2 separate regions of the Homo sapiens genome follow, and region 2 is linked to region 1. Evidence: promoter capture Hi-C in 16 types of primary human blood cells and fetal thymus (Javierre and others, 2016). All regions are on one chromosome and are shown on one strand. The core of a region is centred on a gene start or on the middle of the fragment in contact, and the rest is flanking DNA. Distances in the headings are between cores, read along the strand shown. Region 1 holds the start of C12orf57 (chromosome 12 open reading frame 57). Region 2 has its middle 29 kb from the start of APOBEC1.

Region 1 (6,711 bases), core at 4,005-6,504:
GGAAGCCCGTGAACGAGACCTCCGTGACCGCCTCAAGCCTGGCTTTGAGGTGAAGCCTAGTGAGCTGGAACCCCTACATGGGGTCCCTGGGCCGGGCTTGGATCCCTTTCCCCGACATGGGGGCCTGGCTCTGCAGCCTGGCCCACCTGGCCTGCACCCTTTCCCCTTTCATCCGAGCCTGGGGCCCCTGGAGCGAGAACGTCTAGCGCTGGCAGCTGGGCCAGCCCTGCGGCCTGACATGTCCTATGCTGAGCGGCTGGCAGCTGAGAGGCAGCACGCAGAAAGGGTGGCGGCCCTGGGCAATGACCCACTGGCCCGGCTGCAGATGCTCAATGTGACTCCCCATCACCACCAGCACTCCCACATCCACTCGCACCTGCACCTGCACCAGCAAGATGCTATCCATGCAGGTGAGACCCCTCCTTCCTTGCCCTGGCCCTTTGGGGCCACCTTCCCCCTATCATGACTGGGCTCTTTCATTCCTATGGCCAAGACTTTCCTCCCCTGGCCTGGCATGAACCTTTCCTGAGATTGCTGCCCTGAACTTTGCCTCCCTGACGTTCTCTCAGCCTTGTCTTCTCATGGCCTTCCCTGGCCACAAAGCCTGTATGCCCCACAGCCCAGTTCTCTCCATAGTCTAGTATCCTTCCCATGACAGAGGCCCACACGGGAGCTTTTGAAGGACACTTTTCTATTCTCACAGCCCCATTCTCCCAAGCCCTTCACAAACCTGTCTTCTTATTTATTTTTTTGAGACATGGTCTGGCTCTGCCACCCAGGCTGGAGTGTAGTGGCGCAATCACAGCTCACTGCAGCCTCGACTTCCCGGTCTCAAGTGATCCTCCTACCTCAGCCTCTGGAGTAGCTGGGATTACAGGCGTGTGTCACCATACCTGGCTACTTTTTGTATTTTTGGTAGAGACGGGGTTTCGCCATGTTGGCCATGGCTGGTCTCAAATTCCTGAGCTCAAAGCGATCCACCCACCTCGGCCTCCCAAAGTCCTGAGATTACAGGCGTGAGCCACCGTGCCCAACCCACAAACCTATCTTCTGATTTCTCTGGATTCAACTCATTTTTTGCCATTTTCTCCTCTTCTCCCTCTGCGAGGTCTTTCATGTTTTTCCCCATCTCTAGATCTGTAACTTTCTAGAAAGGGCCCTGTAGCTTTGGGTTTGGGTGTCATAGGCGATAATGAGCTTTACTTACTATCCTTTCACCATTTTTTGGTTTTTGAGACGGAGTCTCGCCCTGTCACCAAGCTGGAGTGCAGTGGCGCGATCTCGGCTTACTGCAACCTCCGCCTCTGGGGTTCAAGTGATTCTTCTGCCTCAGCAGGCACTGCCTGCCCGAGTAGCTGGGACTGCAGGCGTGTGCCACCAAGTACAGCTAATTTTTGTATTTTTAGTAGACACGGGGTTTCACCATGTTGGCCAGGATAGTCTTGATCTCTTGACCTTGTGATCCACCCGCCTTGGCCTCCCAAAGTGCTGGAATTACAAGCGTGAGCCACCGCACCCGGCTTCCTTTTTTTCTTTTGCCCAGACTGGAGTGCAGTGGCGCGATCTCGGCTCACTGCAGCTTCCACCTCCCAGGTTCAAGCGATTCTCCTGCCTCAGCCTCCCGAGGAGCTGGGACTATAGGCGTGTGCCACCCTGCCTGGCTAATTTTTTTGTATTTTTTGTAGAAACAGGGTTTCACCATCTTGGCCAGGCTGGTCTTGAACTCCTCACCTCAGGTGAGCTGCCTGCCTCAGCCTCCCAAAGTGCTGAGATTATAGGCTTGAGCCACTGTGCCCGGCCTCTTCTTGTCTTATTTTCTAAACTTCTATCATCTTCCACCTTCTTCACGCAGTCTACCTCTCTCTGTCCTTCCCCTCAGACCCTTCTGATGACTGTAATCTCCTGTCCTGTGTCATCCATATGTCCCTCCTCCAGTAGGGCTCAGCCTGTCCACCCCTGCCAGGCCTCTAGTTCTTCCACTCTGCCTTTGTTCCACTTTGGACCTCCTTGTGTTTGTCTGACTCAGTTCCCAGGCTTGGATCCCTTCACCCAAATGCATGGTTTGCCCCAAACCTGCCTTCTGGTGACACCTTCCTCTTCTCTGCCCTCCAGCCTCTGCCTCGGTGCACCCTCTCATTGACCCCCTGGCCTCAGGGTCTCACCTTACCCGGATCCCCTACCCAGCTGGAACTCTCCCTAACCCCCTGCTTCCTCACCCTCTGCACGAGAACGAAGTTCTTCGTCACCAGCTCTTTGGTAAGGATGGAAGTTGGGGTAGGCAGCTCCAATGAGAAAAGGGCAGAAAGGAGGTATTTGGGTGGGGGGATGGGCCTAGTTGGGCTTGGGGAGGGATGAGGAGGTGCCTAGAGGAGCTGGGCATGGGAATAGGAGAGCTGGAGCTCTGCCCAAGAGAAGCACGAGTTTTAGTGTCAGCCTAAGAGGTTCGAATCCCAATTCCACCCTACCACTGGCAACTTACAGAACTGGGTGTGTTACCTCACTTTTTAGTTCATTACCTTTGTATGTAAAGGAGCTGGCTATCCCCTGGTCCAGAGCAGGTACTTGTTATCCGTTGGTCATATGCCCCTTGCCCTTCCTGCTCACAGCTGCCCCTTACCGGGACCTGCCGGCCTCCCTTTCTGCCCCGATGTCAGCAGCTCATCAGCTGCAGGCCATGCACGCACAGTCAGCTGAGCTGCAGCGCTTGGCGCTGGAACAGCAGCAGTGGCTGCATGCCCATCACCCGCTGCACAGTGTGCCGCTGCCTGCCCAGGAGGACTACTACAGGTACCCTAGGGTGCCCCAGCCCAGGGGACATGGGCTCAGCGAGCCTGGGAGGAGCTGTGGGCATGGTACGGCTGGGCACCGTGCTCCTGGGGGAGGGAACCCCTCCTCTCCCAACCCCTTCGGTAAGAGGGGGCAAGGTCAGAGTTGGTCTCAAGTCTCTTACCTCTCTGCTATGCACTGCCCCTTCCCTAGTCACCTGAAGAAGGAAAGCGACAAGCCACTGTAGAACCTGCGATCAAGAGAGCACCATGGCTCCTACATTGGACCTTGGAGCACCCCCACCCTCCCCCCACCGTGCCCTTGGCCTGCCACCCAGAGCCAAGAGGGTGCTGCTCAGTTGCAGGGCCTCCGCAGCTGGACAGAGAGTGGGGGAGGGAGGGACAGACAGAAGGCCAAGGCCCGATGTGGTGTGCAGAGGTGGGGAGGTGGCGAGGATGGGGACAGAAAGCGCACAGAATCTTGGACCAGGTCTCTCTTCCTTGTCCCCCCTGCTTTTCTCCTCCCCCATGCCCAACCCCTGTGGCCGCCGCCCCTCCCCTGCCCCGTTGGTGTGATTATTTCATCTGTTAGATGTGGCTGTTTTGCGTAGCATCGTGTGCCACCCCTGCCCCTCCCCGATCCCTGTGTGCGCGCCCCCTCTGCAATGTATGCCCCTTGCCCCTTCCCCACACTAATAATTTATATATATAAATATCTATATGACGCTCTTAAAAAAACATCCCAACCAAAACCAACCAAACAAAAACATCCTCACAACTCCCCAGGAACATGGCTGTGACTATTCTTTGCGGGATATGGGGGTGAGGCTGGGTCTCAGTGCAGCGGTGCTTAGAGAGAACTGCAGCCAGGGCCTGGCAGGGAAGCGGGAAGAGACCAGACCTTCTTAAGGAACGGGGTGTGGGGGCTGGGAAGAATTGGAGAGGGGATCCCTGAAGAGCCCAGAGCCTTGACTCAGCTGGAGGCGGTACCATGGGTGCTGGTGCCCCCTCCTGCCCCAAGGCTGGGCAGGACCGCTGCGCGCCAGTGGAGGCCTCGGTCTGGGCTCTGTGGCTTATGCCTGTGAGACGCGGGTGGATTGCTTGAGCCCAGGAGTTGGAAACCAGCTTGGGCAACATAGAGAAACCCCATCTTAAGACAAAATCAGCTGGGGGTTGTGGTGCACTTGTGGTCCCAGCTACTCAGGAGGCTGAGGTGGGAGGATCACTTGGGGGTCGAGGCTACAGTGAGTCATGATCGCACCACTGCACTCTAGCCTGGGTGACAGAGCAAGGCCCTATCTCAAAACAAACAAACAAAAGACACCCCAACCAACCAAACACTAGAGGCCTGGGACAGGCCCACCTCTGACGTGGTCAGTTCTAGGAATCTATTCAGACGGGTCTCACTGCTAGGAGCCACCAGAGTCCTCCGGAACAAGGGCTTCAGAGTCCTGAAACCTTTCCGTGGAATACTTTAAGAAACGGTTATGAGGCCAGGCGCGACGGCTCACGCTGGTAATCCCAGGACTTTGGGAGGCCGAGGCGGGCGGATCACGAGGTCAGGAGTTCCAGACCAGCTTGGCCAACATGGCAAAACCCTGTCTCTACTAAAAACAAAACATTAGCTGGGCATGGTGGCGCGCGCCTGTCGTCCCAGCGACTTGGGAGGTTGAGGCAGGAGAATCGCTTGAACCCGGGAGGTGGAGGTTATGGTGAGCCAAGATCCCCCCCAGCTGCACTCCAGCTTGGCGACAGAGCAAGACTCCGTCTCAAAAACAAAAAACAAAGCCGGTTATGAAGCGGGGGTGGGGTGGGCTAGTTTTAATAGGTCCAGGCGATTAGTACCTGGCATCCTTAACCACCTACAGTTTGAGAAGGGAGTGGGTGATAAAAGCCTGGAAGGGAAGGGAAATCGGGCCGGGCATTAGGCTCCATCGCTCATCAATAGACAAGGCCTTTAGGAAACTGCGACAACGGCTTTTGCTCTGGGCCTTTACTGCCGAATCCAGGTCTCCGGGCTTAACAACAACGAAGGGGCTGTGACTGGCTGCTTTCTCAACCAATCAGCACCGAACTCATTTGCATGGGCTGAGAACAAATGTTCGCGAACTCTAGAAATGAATGACTTAAGTAAGTTCCTTAGAATATTATTTTTCCTACTGAAAGTTACCACATGCGTCGTTGTTTATACAGTAATAGGAACAAGAAAAAAGTCACCTAAGCTCACCCTCATCAATTGTGGAGTTCCTTTATATCCCATCTTCTCTCCAAACACATACGCAGCAGTGTTACAGCTCTTTTAGAATTTGTCTAGTAGGCTTTCTGGCTTTTTACCGGAAAGCCCCTCTTATGATGTTTGTTGCCAATGATAGATTGTTTTCACTGTGCAAAAATTATGGGTAGTTTTGGTGGTCTTGATGCAGTTGTAAGCTTGGGGTATGAAGGTTTGGGCCACGCCTGGGCGCTTCCGGCTGCGCCGGATGCTGTTTCCTTTCCGCTCCCAGGGGCGTTGGGAACGGTTGTAGGACGTGGCTCTTTATTCGTGAGTTTTCCATTTACCTCCGCTGAACCTAGAGCTTCAGACGCCCTATGGCGTCCGCCTCGACCCAACCGGCGGCCTTGAGCGCTGAGCAAGCAAAGGGTGAGAATCGTCCTAGTCAAGGCATAGGCTGCTGGCCTGGGGTAGTCAAGGCATGGGCTGCTGGTCTGGGGAGGATGCGGGCGGAGGATGTGGGGCGACAAACCTGGCTACGTCCGCCGGGAAAATGGGGTAGGGGACGCCGGGTACCGTCCTTCTAAGTGGGGCGCTTGCCCCCAAGACTTGGGATCTTATTGGGTTACCTACAGCCTCAATCCACTAATTCCTTGCGCTCTCCGCTGGGCCCGCTGTCTGTTCTCCGACGCCTACCCGGGACGCCTCCCTGGGATGCTTCTGGCGCGCAGTGGTCCTCGCGGAGGTGATCCAGGCGTTCTCCGCCCCGGAGAATGCAGTGCGCATGGACGAGGCTCGGGATAACGCCTGCAACGACATGGGTAAGATGCTGCAATTCGTGCTGCCCGTGGCCACGCAGATCCAGCAGGAGGTTATCAAAGCCTATGGCTTCAGCTGCGACGGGGAAGGTGGGTCAGACGCGGGAAGGCGGGTCAGACGCGGGAAGGCGGGAGTTGGGTCGGGAGAGGGCGCCGGATCTGTGGGCCCATGAGCGGTTGTCCCCTTTCTCGCCACACGGCGGCAGCCACAATCTGACTAACATTCTTGGCACTCAGAGCCCAGGGTCTACCCTGAGCTTGTGCGTCCGAGTTGCGTTTTGTACAGTAGAGGTTCTGTATCCCTTACCCGAAATGGTTGGGACCGGAAGTGTTTCGGGTTTTTTCAGATTTCGGAATATTTACATATACATGGATATCTTGGGGGATGGGACCTAAATCTGAACACGAAATTGTTTTGTTTCATATACACGCACCTTATGCACATAGCCTGAGGGTAATTTTATATAATAGTCTGAATAATTTTGTGCATGAGACAAAGTTTTGACTGCGTTTTGACTACAGTCTCCCCCACCCCCCACTATGAAGTCAGGTGTGGAATTTTCCATTTTCGGCCTCACACTGGCACTCATAATTTCAGATTTTGGATTTTCTAATTAAGGATGGTCAACCTGTACTGTTAATCACATTATTATTCCATTTTGTGATGAGGAAGCAAACTCTAATGGTGCAGACTCTCGAGTAGCAGAGCTGGACTTAAATGCTGTTGTGCCACCTTTTAGTGACATGTCTGCATGACAGCAGTGGCTGCAGTCTCTCCAGGGTGTTTCAGCTAATTTTTGTTTGGGGGGGGTTGGTGGTTAAATTTTTGGTGAGATCCTGGTGTTCCCCAAAGGTGTTGACTGATTCAGCTCTGCTGCCTCATAGCCTTCCTGAGTTCCAGCTACAGACCTGGGGT
Region 2 (6,896 bases), core at 3,323-5,822, 690 kb after region 1:
CGTAACTTCTACTAGTGACCTAATTCTTTGAGATGTCATTCCCTGCAGGAGGGCATCCTTGCTCTTCCAAGTCTAAGTTAAGAGGCATTATTTGGTTTTCTTACCTCGTCTTAGGCCTTAACAACACTGCCTTTTATTTGCTTTTAATATCTACTCATATGTAAATGTAACCTCTTCATAATAGGAAATATGTCTAATTTGCTTCCTAATTTATACCCCAGGCTGGCACATTGTAAGTGTGGAATAACTATTTGGGGAATAAATTCTTACATGGAAACATAACTGTTGCCCCTGTGTGATATATGTACTTTCAATATACTGGCATATTATCTACAGAAATATTAGAAGCTAAAGAAAATTAGAAGCTAAGAGAAAATTCTTAAAATCCCATATTCCCATTTAGGATATTGATTGTGATCTTATAAGCCAAGTTAGACTTAGATGACATGGAAAAGGACATATGTAGGACCTAATCGCCTTTTTTCTTTTGTAGCTTGAAAATGACAGCCTTGGTTTATTTTTATTTTTTACTGATCCATAATAGTTGTGCATATTTATAGAGCACATGTAATATTCTGATACGGGCATGTAGTATATAATCATCTAATCAAAGTAATTGCGATATCCATTAGCTCAAACATCATGTCATTTTCAGGGACATGGCTGGAGCTAGAGACCATTATTCTTAGCAAACTAATGCAGGAACAGAAAACCAAATACCATGTGTTCTCACTTATAAGTGGGAGCTAATGATGAAAACACATGTATACATAGAAAGGAACAACACACACTGAGGCCTGTTGGAGGGTGAAGGGTAGGAGGAGAGAGAGGATCAGGAAAAATAACAATGGGTACTAGGCTTAATATCTGGGTGATGAAATGATCTGTACAGCAAACCCCCATGACACAAGTTTACCCATGTAACAAACATGCACATGTACCCCTGAACTAAAAAGTTAAAAAAATTTGCTGAGCACGGTGGCACACGCCTGTAATCCCAGCACTTTGGGAGGCCAAGGCGGGTGGATCACGAGGTCAGGAGATCGAGACCATCCTGGCTAACATGGTGAAACCCCATCTCTACTAAAAATACAAAAAATTAGCTGGGCGTGGTGGCGGGCGCTTGTAGTCCCAGCTACTTGGGAGGCTGAGGCAGGAGAATGGCGTGAACACGGGGGGTGGAGTTTGCAATGAGGGGAGATCGCGCCACTGCACTCTAGCCTGGGCGAGAGAGCGAGACTCCATTTCCAAAAAAAAAAAGGTTAAAAATTTTTAAAAAAAGAAAGTCTATAGGGCCCAGACTTACCCAACATCTTTATACTTTATTGCACTGTGGCCCTATTAGACTTTCCTGTGAGTTGGATCCTGTCCAACTTCCCAAACAGATGCTGATACTTTGTGGGTTGTGTAGTTACTGATAATTCGTCATCATCTTCTCATAACTGAAAGCTCATGGAGAAATTTTGCCATCTAGTTTTGCTATAAATGGGTTTTGTTCATTGCTCCTTGGTTTTGCTGCCCTAGATGGAGATTTTTAAAGTGCACTGTACTAAAACCACCTACCTAGAATCTTCCCCATCTTCATTCTTAAAACACTTTTCTCTCCACTTGGCTTCTGGGATAAAAGTTTTCTGATTTATCTTTTATCTTATTGGCTACTGCTACTCAGCCAACTTTGCTGTTTCTTCGTCTTTGTCTTGATCTCCAGATGTTGGTAAATCCTGTGGATTGGTCTTCAATTTTCTTATGTCCACAATTCATATTCACATGTCTAAGTAAGGTCAACCATTCCTGTGACTTTAAGACAATGCATATGTAAAGCCCATTTTTTTAATCCCCAGATTTTACCTTTTCTATCAAATTCAGACATGAATAACTGTCCACTTGTATGTCTAATAAACATTTTAAAAGTTAACATAATTAAATGGAACTCTTGACTTCACTTTCAAACCACTCCTAGCCCTGTGTTCCTCATTTCAGTTAAGTGACAGTATCATTCATCTGGTTGTTCTTGCTAAAAATGTAAAAGTCATGAGTTTTCCCTTTGTAGCATACATTTATTCCATCAACAAATCCTGTCAACTAAACCTTTAATATATATCCCAAATCTTACTACTTCTCACCACTTGTATCTTTATTTCAGTAGAGATAATAGTCATATTTCCTAGTATGGATGAAAATAGTCAAACTCTATAAAATATGTGAAGAGATTTATTCTGAGCCAAATATGAGTGACCATGGCCCATGACACAGCCCTCAGGAGGTCCTGAGAACATGTGCCCAGGATGGATGGGGTACAGCTTGCTTTTATATGTTTTAGGAAGGCATGACACATCAAATACATTTAAGAAATACATTGGTTTGGTTCAGAAAGGCAGGACAACTCAAAGCAGGGGCTTCCAGGCTATAGGTAAATTTAAACATTTTCTGTATGACAGTTGGTTGAGTTTATCTGAAGAGCTGGGATCAATAGAAAGGAAATGTCCAGGCCGGGTGTGGTGGCTCACACCTGTAATCCCAGCACTTTGGGAGGCCAAGGCAGGTGGATCACCCAAGGTCAGGAGTTCGAGACCAGCCTGGCCAACATGGTGAAACCCTGTCTCTACTAAAAATACAAAAATTAGCTGGGCATGGTGGTGGGTGCCTGTAACCCCAGCTACTTGGGAGGCTGAGGCACAAGAATCTTTTGAACCCAGGAGGCGAAAGTTGCAGTGAGCCGAGATTGCGTCATTGCACTCCTGCCTGGGTGACAGAGTGAGACTCTGTCTCAAAAAAAAGAAAGGTATGTTCAAGTTAAGATAAAGAATTGTGGAGACCAAGTTTTATTGTGCAGAGGAAGCTCTCTGATAGCAGACTTCAGAGACAGCAGGTTGTAAAATGTTTCCTATCAGACCTAAAAGGGTACCTGGCTCTTAGTTGATTATCTCCTGGATCCAGAAAGGAAGAAAGGAAAACAAAGGGGAAAGGGGATTCTCTATAGAATGTGGATTTTTCCCACAAGGGACTTTGCAGGGCAATTTCAAGGTATGGCAAGAAAATATATTTTGGGGTAAAACATTTTTATTTTCTTTCTAGTTATGCCAGAGTCAGATTGGAAAGTAAGTCGTAATATACAGGATTAAATAAAACCCATCTGATGAGAATTTATGGTTTGTGGGTCATGACTCCCCATACCCCTTAATAAGGAATTTAGGCCAGATAAAAAATCAGAGCTTAGTCTTTACTAGATATCTGCTGTATTTCTAACTGGACTTCCTTACTTCACTTTTGCCCCACTATATCTGTTTTCCATACAGCAGGCAACCAGTTCTTGTTAATACATAATAAATCCTGCACTACCACAAATTTCTAAAATCCAGTTTACTCAAAAGAAAATCCAAATTTCTTTCCATGACCTATACTTCCCTACATAATCTTACCTTTGCTTGTCTCCCTGGCCCTATTTCCTACATTTTCTCACCTCATTTATTCCACTCTAACCACATTTTTTATTCCTTAAAAAATGCCAAATTTGTTTTGTTCCAATTTCAAATGCCTGCACCTTCTTCCATCTGCTTGAAATAAACTTTCTCCAGATTTTCACATGACCTGCTCATTTACTTTATTACCAGTATCCGCCCAGGTGCAGTGGCTCATGCCTGTAATCCTAGCACTTCGGGAGGCCGAGGTGGGCAGATCACAAGGTCAGGCGTGCGGGACCAGCCTGGCCAATATGGTGAAACCCCGTCTCTACTAAAAATACAAAAATTAGCCAGGCATGATGGCACGTGCCTATAATCCCAGCTACTCAGTAGGCTGAGGCAGGAGAATCGCTTGAACCCCAGAGGCAGAGGTTGCAGTGAGCCAAGATCAAGTCACTGCACTCCACTCCGGATGACAAAGAAAGACTCCATCTCAAAAAAAAAAGAAAATTACCAGTATCCTTGGCAAGTCCATCTAAAATAGGATTCACTGCTTCCAACACTCTCTAGCCTTTTACTTTGCTTTACTTTGACTTTACTTTCATTTTACTTTGCTTTACTACAACAATATCTATCATGAAGGTTGATATCAAATGATAATTTAGCTGATACAATTTTTGTTGAGCCTCCAACTGTGAATGAGAAAATAAAGCCTAAAGTTCATAGTACAGCTAATGACCATTAGATATTTTCTCTGTGAAAGTTTGCTAATCAGCTGAATAATTTTTCTCCTATAGGAATAGCAATAATTATAGTGGCTCATATAAAATATGCTCATGTATTAACATCCATCTCTACTGTAAATATATAATGAGCTTTGTGTTAGTCTGCTTGCATTACTATAAAAGAATACCTGAGGCTGGGTAATCTATAAAGAAAAGGGGTTAAGTTGACTCATAGTTCTACAGGCTGTGCATGAAGCATAGTGCCAGCATCTGCTTCTGATGAGGGCTTCAGGAAGCTTACAATCATGGTGGAAGGCAAAGGGGCGACAGTGTGCCACATGGTGAGAGTAGGAGCAAGCGAGATGCCAGACTCTTAAACAACAAGCTCTTGTGTGAACGAACAGTGAGAACTCATTACTTCAGGAGGGATCTACCCACATGACCCAAACACCTCCAAATAATACAGGAATTATTAAGAAATAACTTTTAGGCCGCTAGAAAGGGTAAAGGTTCTCAGTGGAAATTTTCCTGTAATAAGAAGCAACCCCCAAACCATTTCTTTTCTAACAGAAAGGCAGCTTGAAAAACCAGGCCGGCAAGCTTTGATATGCAAATGCTGGCGATTAGAAACTGGGTCCACCCAACATGGCCAACAGGAAGAGTGCCACCCTCTCCTCCTCATCACTACATGTGCCAAGTGTCATGATTGCCTCCAGATAACATGGATATCATGGTGACCTGCATTTGCATATTAAAGGAGTAAGGTAGGAGTGCCAGGTTTTTCACGGGCTATGTGAATGACACGCCTGGTCAAACCAATCTCCTGGGCCCTATGCAAATTAGACACCTCCTCCTCCAGCCTCCTGCTATAACAAACTACTCTGCCACACACGGGGTTTCTCTCTGGGAGCCCCCCTCCCTCTGTCCCTGTACTGGGAAGCTTCTTCCTTCTTTCTTGCTTATTAAACTCTCCACTCCTTAAAACCACTCTACATGTGTCCATGTCGCTTTATCTAAAACGATGTTAGACCAAGGACCCTGCTGTTCTTCCATTCATCAGAGCAGTTATCATTTTGGTTGCATTGACCGGGAATTCATTCATCGGAGTGGTGACTATAGAGCGAGCCCCAACCTCAAATCTCTCCTTCAATTTCAAGGCTCTCTTCTTACTATCCTGTTGCAAAATTTTCCTTCTTTCTCTATCCACGGTCTCTTACTCTCTCTCTGTGAAAAGTGCAGGGAGTTTTACAGTTCAGTGAAACAGGTCTGCTAGGAAAGATGGCAAACGCAGCAGGCAGTAACTCAACAAGCCCGCTCTCTGTGGCTGCGCTGGTGAGCATATAGTATTTCTAAGCCAACAGCGCCACCTAGTGGAAGTAGAAATCCTCTTCAGGGGCCACATTTTTTACGGTAACACTGAACTTCCTTTTGCACCACCAGAAATCAGGCTCTAACCTACTTCTGTGAACCGGAAAGTTCTGCCTTCAGCAATTAGAAGTAATATGTCCTCGACCGGGCATGGTGGCTTACGCCTGTAATCCCAACACTTTGGGAGGCCAAAGCGGGTGGATCACGAGGTCAGGAGTTCGAGACCAGCCTGGCCAATATGGTGAAACCCCGTCTCTACTAAAAACACAAAAATTAGCTGGGCGTGGTGGTGCACACCTGCGGTCCCAGCTGCTCAGGAGGCTGAGGCTATTGAATTGCTTAAAACGGGGAAGCAGAGGTTGCAGTGAGCTGAGATTACGTCACTGCACTCCAGCCTGGGTGACAGTGAGACTCTGTCTCAAAAAGAAGTAATATGTCTGCTGCCACATTTTAGTCTTGATATTGTCCCATAAGCAGGAAAATGGCCATTCTGTTCCTACGCTCTTTTAAGACATCTAATCTGTTTCCTGTTAAAATGGTATAATTAGTAGGGAGATTTTAAGTTCAGAAGTTAACCAGAACCATTTTTCTGAGGGTAAATGGTTTGGCATGGGCCATAATAGCAGGCAGTCTAGCACATTGCCTCTGTTAAAGGAGCCTTGACCAAAAACAACACAGTCTCTCCAAAGATCAATTTTTCAGGGAGCCAGGTAGATCACATAGGCTTAGGAAGTCAAAGGGAATCACACAAGGCAGATAAGCTAAGGTTGCGTGGGTAAAGTGTGGTTAATCCCATTGAGAGGTGACAGCGTGCTAGCAGTCCTCACAGCTCTCGCTCGCTCTCGGCGCCTCCTCTGCCTGGGCTCCCACTTTGGCGGCACTTGAGGAGCCCTTCAGCCCACCGCTGCACTGTGGGAGCCCCTTTCTGGGCTGGCGAAGGCCGCAGCCCGCTCCCTCAGCTTGCAGGGAGGTGTGGAGGGAGACGCGCGAGCGGGAACCGGGGCTGCGCGCGGCGCTTGCGGGCCAGCTGGAGTTCCGGGGGGGCGTGGGCTTGGCGGCCCCGCACTCGGAGCAGCCGGCCGGCCCTGCCGGCCCGGGGCAGTGAGGGGCTTAGCACCCGGGCCAGCGGCTGCGGAGGGTGTACTGGGTCCCCCAGCAGTGCCAGCCCACCGGCGCTGCGCTCGATTTCTCACCGGGCCTTAGCTGCCTTCCCGCGGGGCAGGCCTTGGGACTGCAGCCCGCCATGCCTGAGCCTTCCCCCGCCTCCGTGGGTTCCTGTGCAGCCGGAGCCTCCCCGACGAGCGCCGCCCCCTGCTCCACGGCGCCCAGTCCCATCGACCGCCCAAGGGCTGAGGAGTGCAAGCGCATGGCGTGGGACTGCAGCGCCGGTGCGGGATCCACT

What was found. The method cuts DNA at HindIII sites, captures the fragments that hold promoters and counts their contacts. A CHiCAGO score of 5 or more calls a contact.
Region 2: a fragment that was not itself captured here is called in contact with the fragment with the promoter of C12orf57 in region 1 in 1 of 17 cell types (fetal thymus); the score reaches 5.3 in fetal thymus.

The regions. Positions count from the first base shown.
Region 1 is chr12:6,938,768-6,945,478 of GRCh38, forward strand. It overlaps C12orf57 (chromosome 12 open reading frame 57), which reads left to right and starts at 5,255. Exons shown (of 3, transcript NM_138425.4): 1 at 5,255-5,406; 2 at 5,709-5,885. The coding sequence starts at 5,355. RNU7-1 (RNA, U7 small nuclear 1) reads left to right here and starts at 5,049; the gene lies at 5,049-5,111. ATN1 (atrophin 1) reads left to right here. Exons shown (of 10, transcript NM_001940.4): 7 at 1-410; 8 at 2,113-2,256; 9 at 2,607-2,787; 10 at 2,980-3,554. The coding sequence ends at 3,013. RefSeq lists enhancers at 5,063-5,642, 5,142-5,331, 5,632-5,751, 5,643-6,222, 5,762-5,911 and 1 more and a silencer at 5,545-5,804. The HindIII fragment of the contact is 10,579 bases long and covers 5,194-6,711 here.
Region 2 is chr12:7,633,368-7,640,263 of GRCh38, forward strand. No RefSeq gene overlaps it. Among named protein-coding and RNA genes, the nearest start is that of APOBEC1, 29 kb to the right of the region's middle. RefSeq lists an enhancer at 4,479-5,013 and silencers at 5,455-5,584, 6,666-6,765. The HindIII fragment of the contact is 304 bases long and covers 4,421-4,724 here.